Linked DNA regions of Homo sapiens: region 1 is linked to region 2. The links are contacts of gene promoters, found by promoter capture Hi-C in blood cells and fetal thymus (Javierre and others, 2016). All regions are on one chromosome and are shown on one strand. Each heading gives the region's core, a stretch centred on a gene start or on the middle of the fragment in contact. The rest is flanking DNA. Distances are from core to core; before and after follow the strand shown. Region 1 has its middle 24 kb from the start of SLC16A12. Region 2 holds the start of IFIT2 (interferon induced protein with tetratricopeptide repeats 2).

The links. The method cuts DNA at HindIII sites, captures the fragments that hold promoters and counts their contacts. A CHiCAGO score of 5 or more calls a contact.
Region 1: a fragment that was not itself captured here is called in contact with the fragment with the promoter of IFIT2 in region 2 in 9 of 17 cell types (total CD4 T cells, total CD8 T cells, naive B cells and 6 more); the score reaches 13.0 in total CD4 T cells.

What each region holds. Positions count from the first base shown.
Region 1 is chr10:89,558,178-89,561,022 of GRCh38, reverse strand. No RefSeq gene overlaps it. Among named protein-coding and RNA genes, the nearest start is that of SLC16A12, 24 kb to the right of the region's middle. RefSeq lists an enhancer at 1,630-2,154. The HindIII fragment of the contact is 177 bases long and covers 1,415-1,591 here.
Region 2 is chr10:89,300,777-89,303,489 of GRCh38, reverse strand. IFIT2 (interferon induced protein with tetratricopeptide repeats 2) reads right to left here and starts at 1,444. Exons shown (of 2, transcript NM_001547.5): 1 at 1,362-1,444. The coding sequence starts at 1,366. LOC105378419 (a long non-coding RNA gene) reads left to right here and starts at 1,587. Exons shown (of 3, transcript NR_188200.1): 1 at 1,587-2,204. It also overlaps a transcript of LIPA not described here. RefSeq lists an enhancer at 1,417-1,736. The HindIII fragment of the contact is 3,117 bases long and covers 1,158-2,713 here.

The DNA of each region.
Region 1 (2,845 bases), core at 254-2,753, 260 kb before region 2:
GGACATAAATTTTTGATTAATTTGAGTAAATACCAGGGGGTGCAACTGCTGGATTATATGGTAAGAGTATGTTTAGTTTTGTAAGAAACTGACAAGCTATCTTCCAAAGTGGCTGTACGATTTTGCACTTTGCAATGAATGAGAGCTATTACTTCACATTTGTCAGTATTTGATGCTGTTAGAGTTTTGGATTTTAGCCATTCTAATAGGTATGTAGTGGTATCTCATTGTTTTAATATGCAATTCCCTAACAACATGTGATATCAAGCGTCTTTTCAATGCCTTATTTGCTATCTGTATATCATTTTTGGTGAAGTGTCTATTCAGATCTTCTTTTTATTTTTTAACTAGGTTCATTTTCTTGTTATAAGTTTTATTACAAACTTTTTATTTTTTTACTTTTTTAATTTTTAAAGATGGGGTCTCGCTATATTGCCCAGGCTGGCCTCAAATTCCCGGGCCAAAGTGATCATCTTTCCTCAGCCTCTCAAGTAGCTGGGACCACAGGTGTGCGCCACGACTCCCAGCTCATCATGGATTTTTTTTTTTTTAATTGTGGAGATTTTAGTAAATGTGGACAAGCACAGAAAAAAAAATTATATAACTCAGAAATAACCAAAACATTTTGTTTTATACCCTTTGGATCTATTTTCAGTGTACATGTATGTAAATATTGTTCTATGTCATGTATTAAAAAATTGGGATAGCATTCAACAATGTAGAAACCCTACAGTGGTTTATAAGTGTTTTCCCAATTAGTAATATTTGTATAGGTCCATGTCTTCTTTGCCACCATTTCACTCAGTTCTAGATGCTTCCCATATGTATTCCTTTGTTTCAAATTATGCCAAACTCTTCACTGTGGCTGAATGATTGAGTTGGCCTTCAATCATTCTTCCTTGAAAATCCATAATGAAGTCAAGCAATGTAAATACAGTGTGAAAAGTTTTCTGTAAATCTCTAACAGATTTTTATCAAATAATTTTTTTAAGTGTACCATAAGCTGTTCCTCATTTACATTTTTCTGACTTACAGCTTGGTGTAGTTTGGGATTTAGAGAGACTAAATTAAAATCCTGGGTCTAGGTGGTGACATATGCTATTTAACCTGCCCAATTTTATTTTTCTTACATTTAAAGATGGGAATAATAACATCTAATTTGTAGGGTTGTTGGAAGATAATGAATAGTAACCAACAACCGCCTAATTCAGTGCATTGCCTGGCATCTAGTGACCCTTCAGGATTGCTAGTAGGTATCATGTGCAAGTATGCTAAGGGGGTACTAAAATCTGACTTGGCGTTTTTATGAGTGATTGCCAATGCTATTTATTCATTCAGTAAACATTTCCTAATTATCTGTTGTGTCTATATAAGTATTTAAGTACTATGGATACCGAGACAGAAAGAAAAAGCTTTCTTGTCCTCAAGAGGCTTGCTGTCTGGTGGGCAAGGTAGAGAAGTAAAGCACCAGCTACAATGCAATGCAATAGACACTAGGATAGGGTTGTGCATAGGGTGACAAGGTGCTACGAGGGCATGCTTGTCTAATCAGGATGGGGGGCAGTTTTCCAGAGAAGGCCATAATTAAGCTTGACTTGAAGTATAAAAGGAGTCCGCTTAGGTAGACAGAGATGGCGTGGAAGGGTGAAGAACACAATCTATTTGGAGAACTGTAAAAGGTTCTATATGTAGGTATTACAGGAGTTATTAAGAAATTATTTTAGGCAGCTAGAGAGGGTAAAAGAGTCCTCAGTAAGTCTTTTTCGTTTAATAAAAAAGCGGTCCCCCAAATATTTATTATCTAACAGAAAGCAGCCTGAAAAACCAGACCTGCAAGTATTGATATGCAAATGCAGATGGTTAAGAGTCAGGTCCAGCCAATATGGCGGTTCCTGCTACTTTTTCTTTGTTGCCACGTGTACAGGTGTCATGGCGACCAGCCAGGTAGCCGCATTTGCATAATAAAAGGCTAGGGTGGGAGGGCCAGTTTTTTTGGGGGGGCTACCTGAATGACACACGTGGTTAAACCAATCCCCTGTGCCCTATGCTAATTAGACACCACCTCCTCCAGCCTCCCAATATAAACCACTGCTTTCCTCTGCACGCGGGTTTTCGGTTCAGAGCCCTCCTCCCTCTGTACGGGGAGCTATTCTCTCCTTTCTTGCCTATTAAACTTTCTACCCCTTAATCCACTCCACGTGTGTCCACGTCGCTAATTTTCACCACACGAGATAAAGGACACCGCAACTGAGCGGTGTAATAGGGAGTAACATTGCCTTGGGCAGCTGTAGGAGACGACCCCAAGAGATAGTTTCAGCAGACATCATTATCTGGGTTAGCTGTTGCCCTTGCTCTAATTCCACTTCTTTTTTTGAGTAGAATTTGAACTTCTGCCCTAGTTCATCTGTTCCAGTCGCATCAGCCTCCTTGTGTTTCCTCAAGTATACCAAGCACACTCCAAACTCAGGGTGCCTTCATTTTGCCCCTTTCTCCTTTTCCGTGCTTTCCCTCCAGATGACCACAGCCACACTCCCCTGCCTCCTTCAGGTTGCTGCGTGAATGCCACGACCCGGACCACACACTATTTTTTTTTTTTTTTTGAGACAGAGTCTCGCTCTGTCGCCCAGGCTGGAGTGCAGTGGCACAATCTCAGCTCACTGCAACCTCTGCCTCCAAAATTCAAGCGATTCTCCTGCCCAGCCTCCTGAGTAGCTGGGATTACAGGCGCCTGCCACCATGCCCAGCTAATTTTTGGATTTTTCGTAGAGATGAGGTTTCACCATGTTGGCCAGACTGGTTTCAAACTCCTGACCTCAAGTGATCCGCTTGCCTCAGCCTCCCAAAG
Region 2 (2,713 bases), core at 195-2,694:
TTCCTATAGAAGTTCCAGTTGTATACACAACAACAACAATTTCTTCCTTTGCCTCTTATCTGGATGAAAGCCACAGTGACATTATCAACCAGGCTCAGAACTAATGCTACCACCGCAGTCTCAGAATCACTGAGGAGCCTTTTAGAAACACACATCCTCAGACTCTAACCCAGACCCACTTAATGAGAATCTCTGGGGAGTCAACCCTAGGACTCTGTCCTTAATAAGCTGTCCAGGCAATTTTTATGCATGCTCAATTTTGAGAACCACTGTCTTAGGGCACAAGGGCAATGCCCAGTGAAAGTCACAATAGATAAAGAATTAAGGAAAGAAAGGACAGATGGGTCTGTATTGTAATGGGAAAAATTCTAAGATAAGACCATGCTAAAATTCTAAGAAATAAGAAAAGGGTTCTATAGATTCTGGGTGACTACAAAAAAAAGAAATCTGTAAATATCTCAAATCTTTTTTTTTTTTTTTGAAATCAGGCAGAACATTTAGACTAGCAGGAAATAATATCGTTTCAAGAAGAGAAATCAGGAACCTCACAGACAGAGGGCAAGGTGTCTCATAGGAAGTAAGCACAGGGGTTGGTAACACGGGATTCCAGAGCTCCCAGGATGAGGGTTAGGCAACCAGGTCCGGCCACCCCACCTTCAAACTGGAGAAAATATTTCCCTTCCTATTCAATGAGCTAACACTTCCTCTCCAGGGCAGTCTCATGTTTTGGGGATAGAAGGGAATGTTAGAGGTGAGAACAGAACTATTTTCTCCAAGCACTCCATCTCTAATTCATACTCAGGAGGCATTTTGGGGTGAAAATATTTAAGTTTACCAGCCCTTGTGCAAATCTGAGATGAAGAACTACATTAAAAGTAAAATTCACCTTTGCAGGAAGTGGGGTTTGCTATTCTGTGTATATCTTTAACAGTATCTGCTGAAAAGAACCCTTTTGTTAAATAATTGTATTACAAGTCCCCAACTTAATCCTTTCAAATATGAAATAAGACAGGGTCAGTGCACAAGAGCAATGCCCCCAGACCCATCTTTAAGTGAAGCACCAGGCCGATGAAACATCATCCCTCTCTGCTGCCTTCTTTCTCTGATTGCAACTCAACTCCCCAGGCGTGCAGTTCTGGAGATGAATTTAGGAAGCTTGCCAGTGTGAAGCAGAAAATTGTTCAGGAGGGAACAAACCACCATTGGTAAGACAGATTTACAACCAACAGAGGTAGAGGCATAGTAAGGCTATAAACAAACACTAAAATGGAGCTGGCCCTCTTTGGGAACATAGCTTCTCAGGATTTGCATTGGACAAGATGACTCAACAGCACTACCGAATACGAAGGGAAAATATTTACCTCATGGTTGCAGTGCAATTCTCAGCTGTTCGGCAGGGCTCGGTTCAGGCAGCTGCACTCTTCAGAAATCTTCCTCTTCTGCCACCAATAAATGCTGAAGAGACCTATATATACAAGTGGCCTCTGGTTCCTTTTTGTTTGTTTCCCTTCAGCTGACGTTACAAAAGGGAAAGTGAAACTAGAAAGTGAAATTGGCAGGACTCTTTTTCTTTTTTTCTTTTTATTATACTTTAGAGGACTCTTTTTCCTCCGGAGCTGAGTTGTGATCAGAGAAAGAAGGCAGCAGAGAGGGATGTTTCATCGGCCTGGTGCTTCACTTAAAGATGGGTCTGGGGACATTGCTCTTGTGCACTGTCCCTCTCTTATTTCATATTCGAAAAGATTAAGTTGGGGACTTGTAATACAATTATTTAACAAAAGGGTTCTTTTCAGCAGATACTGTTAAAGATATACACAGAATAGCAAACCCCACTTCCTGCTAAGGTGAATTTTACTTTTAATGTAGTCCTTCATCTCAGATTTGCACAAGGGCTGGTAAACTTAGATATTTTCACCCCAAAATGCTCTTGAGTAAGAGCCAAGCCCAGCTGCGTAGTGAGTTAGAAGAACTTCCTCTTTGTGGAATGTACTGATGGCATCAAGGGAGCACAACTCCTAGGAGGACACATTTACAAAGCTCCCTGCCTTGTGATTACCATATTAACCCATCTTTGCTCTGCCTTATACCAATATGATCCACAGGCCACTGTAAGGAGCAGTTATTTAGCCTCGACAGGGCAGGGGATTTTAGTCTGAATCATTGCTGAATCTCCAGTCCCTGCAAAACAACCTGCACATTGCATGGTATGGCAAGCATTCCAAAAGTAGTTGTTGACTAAATGAATACATGATTAGAAGCATGGGCAGTGATGTCTGTCTATCTGGATTTGAAATCAGCTTCCACCTTTATGCTATGAAACTCTGGGGAAAATTATTGAATGTCTCTGCTTCGGTTTTGTAAATTGGGAATAATACAACTACTGGTTTATTGTGGTGTTGGGAGGATGAAATGAGAGAATACGTGAAATGTCCTTAGAATAATGCCTGGCAGTAATAAGTAAATGCTAGTTTCTATTATAATTATTAACTAAAATCGTTAACCAAAGTGATCAGAGGGGAAACTCTTTTTTTCAGGCTGGAGTGCAGTGGAAAGATCCTGGCTTACTGCAACCTCCACCTCCCTGGTTCAAGTGATTCGCCTCAGCCTCTCGAGTAGCTGGGATTACAGGCACGCACCACCACGCCCGGCTAATTTTTGTATTTTTAGTAGAGATGGGGTTCCACCATGTTGGCCAGGCTGGTCTCGAACTCCT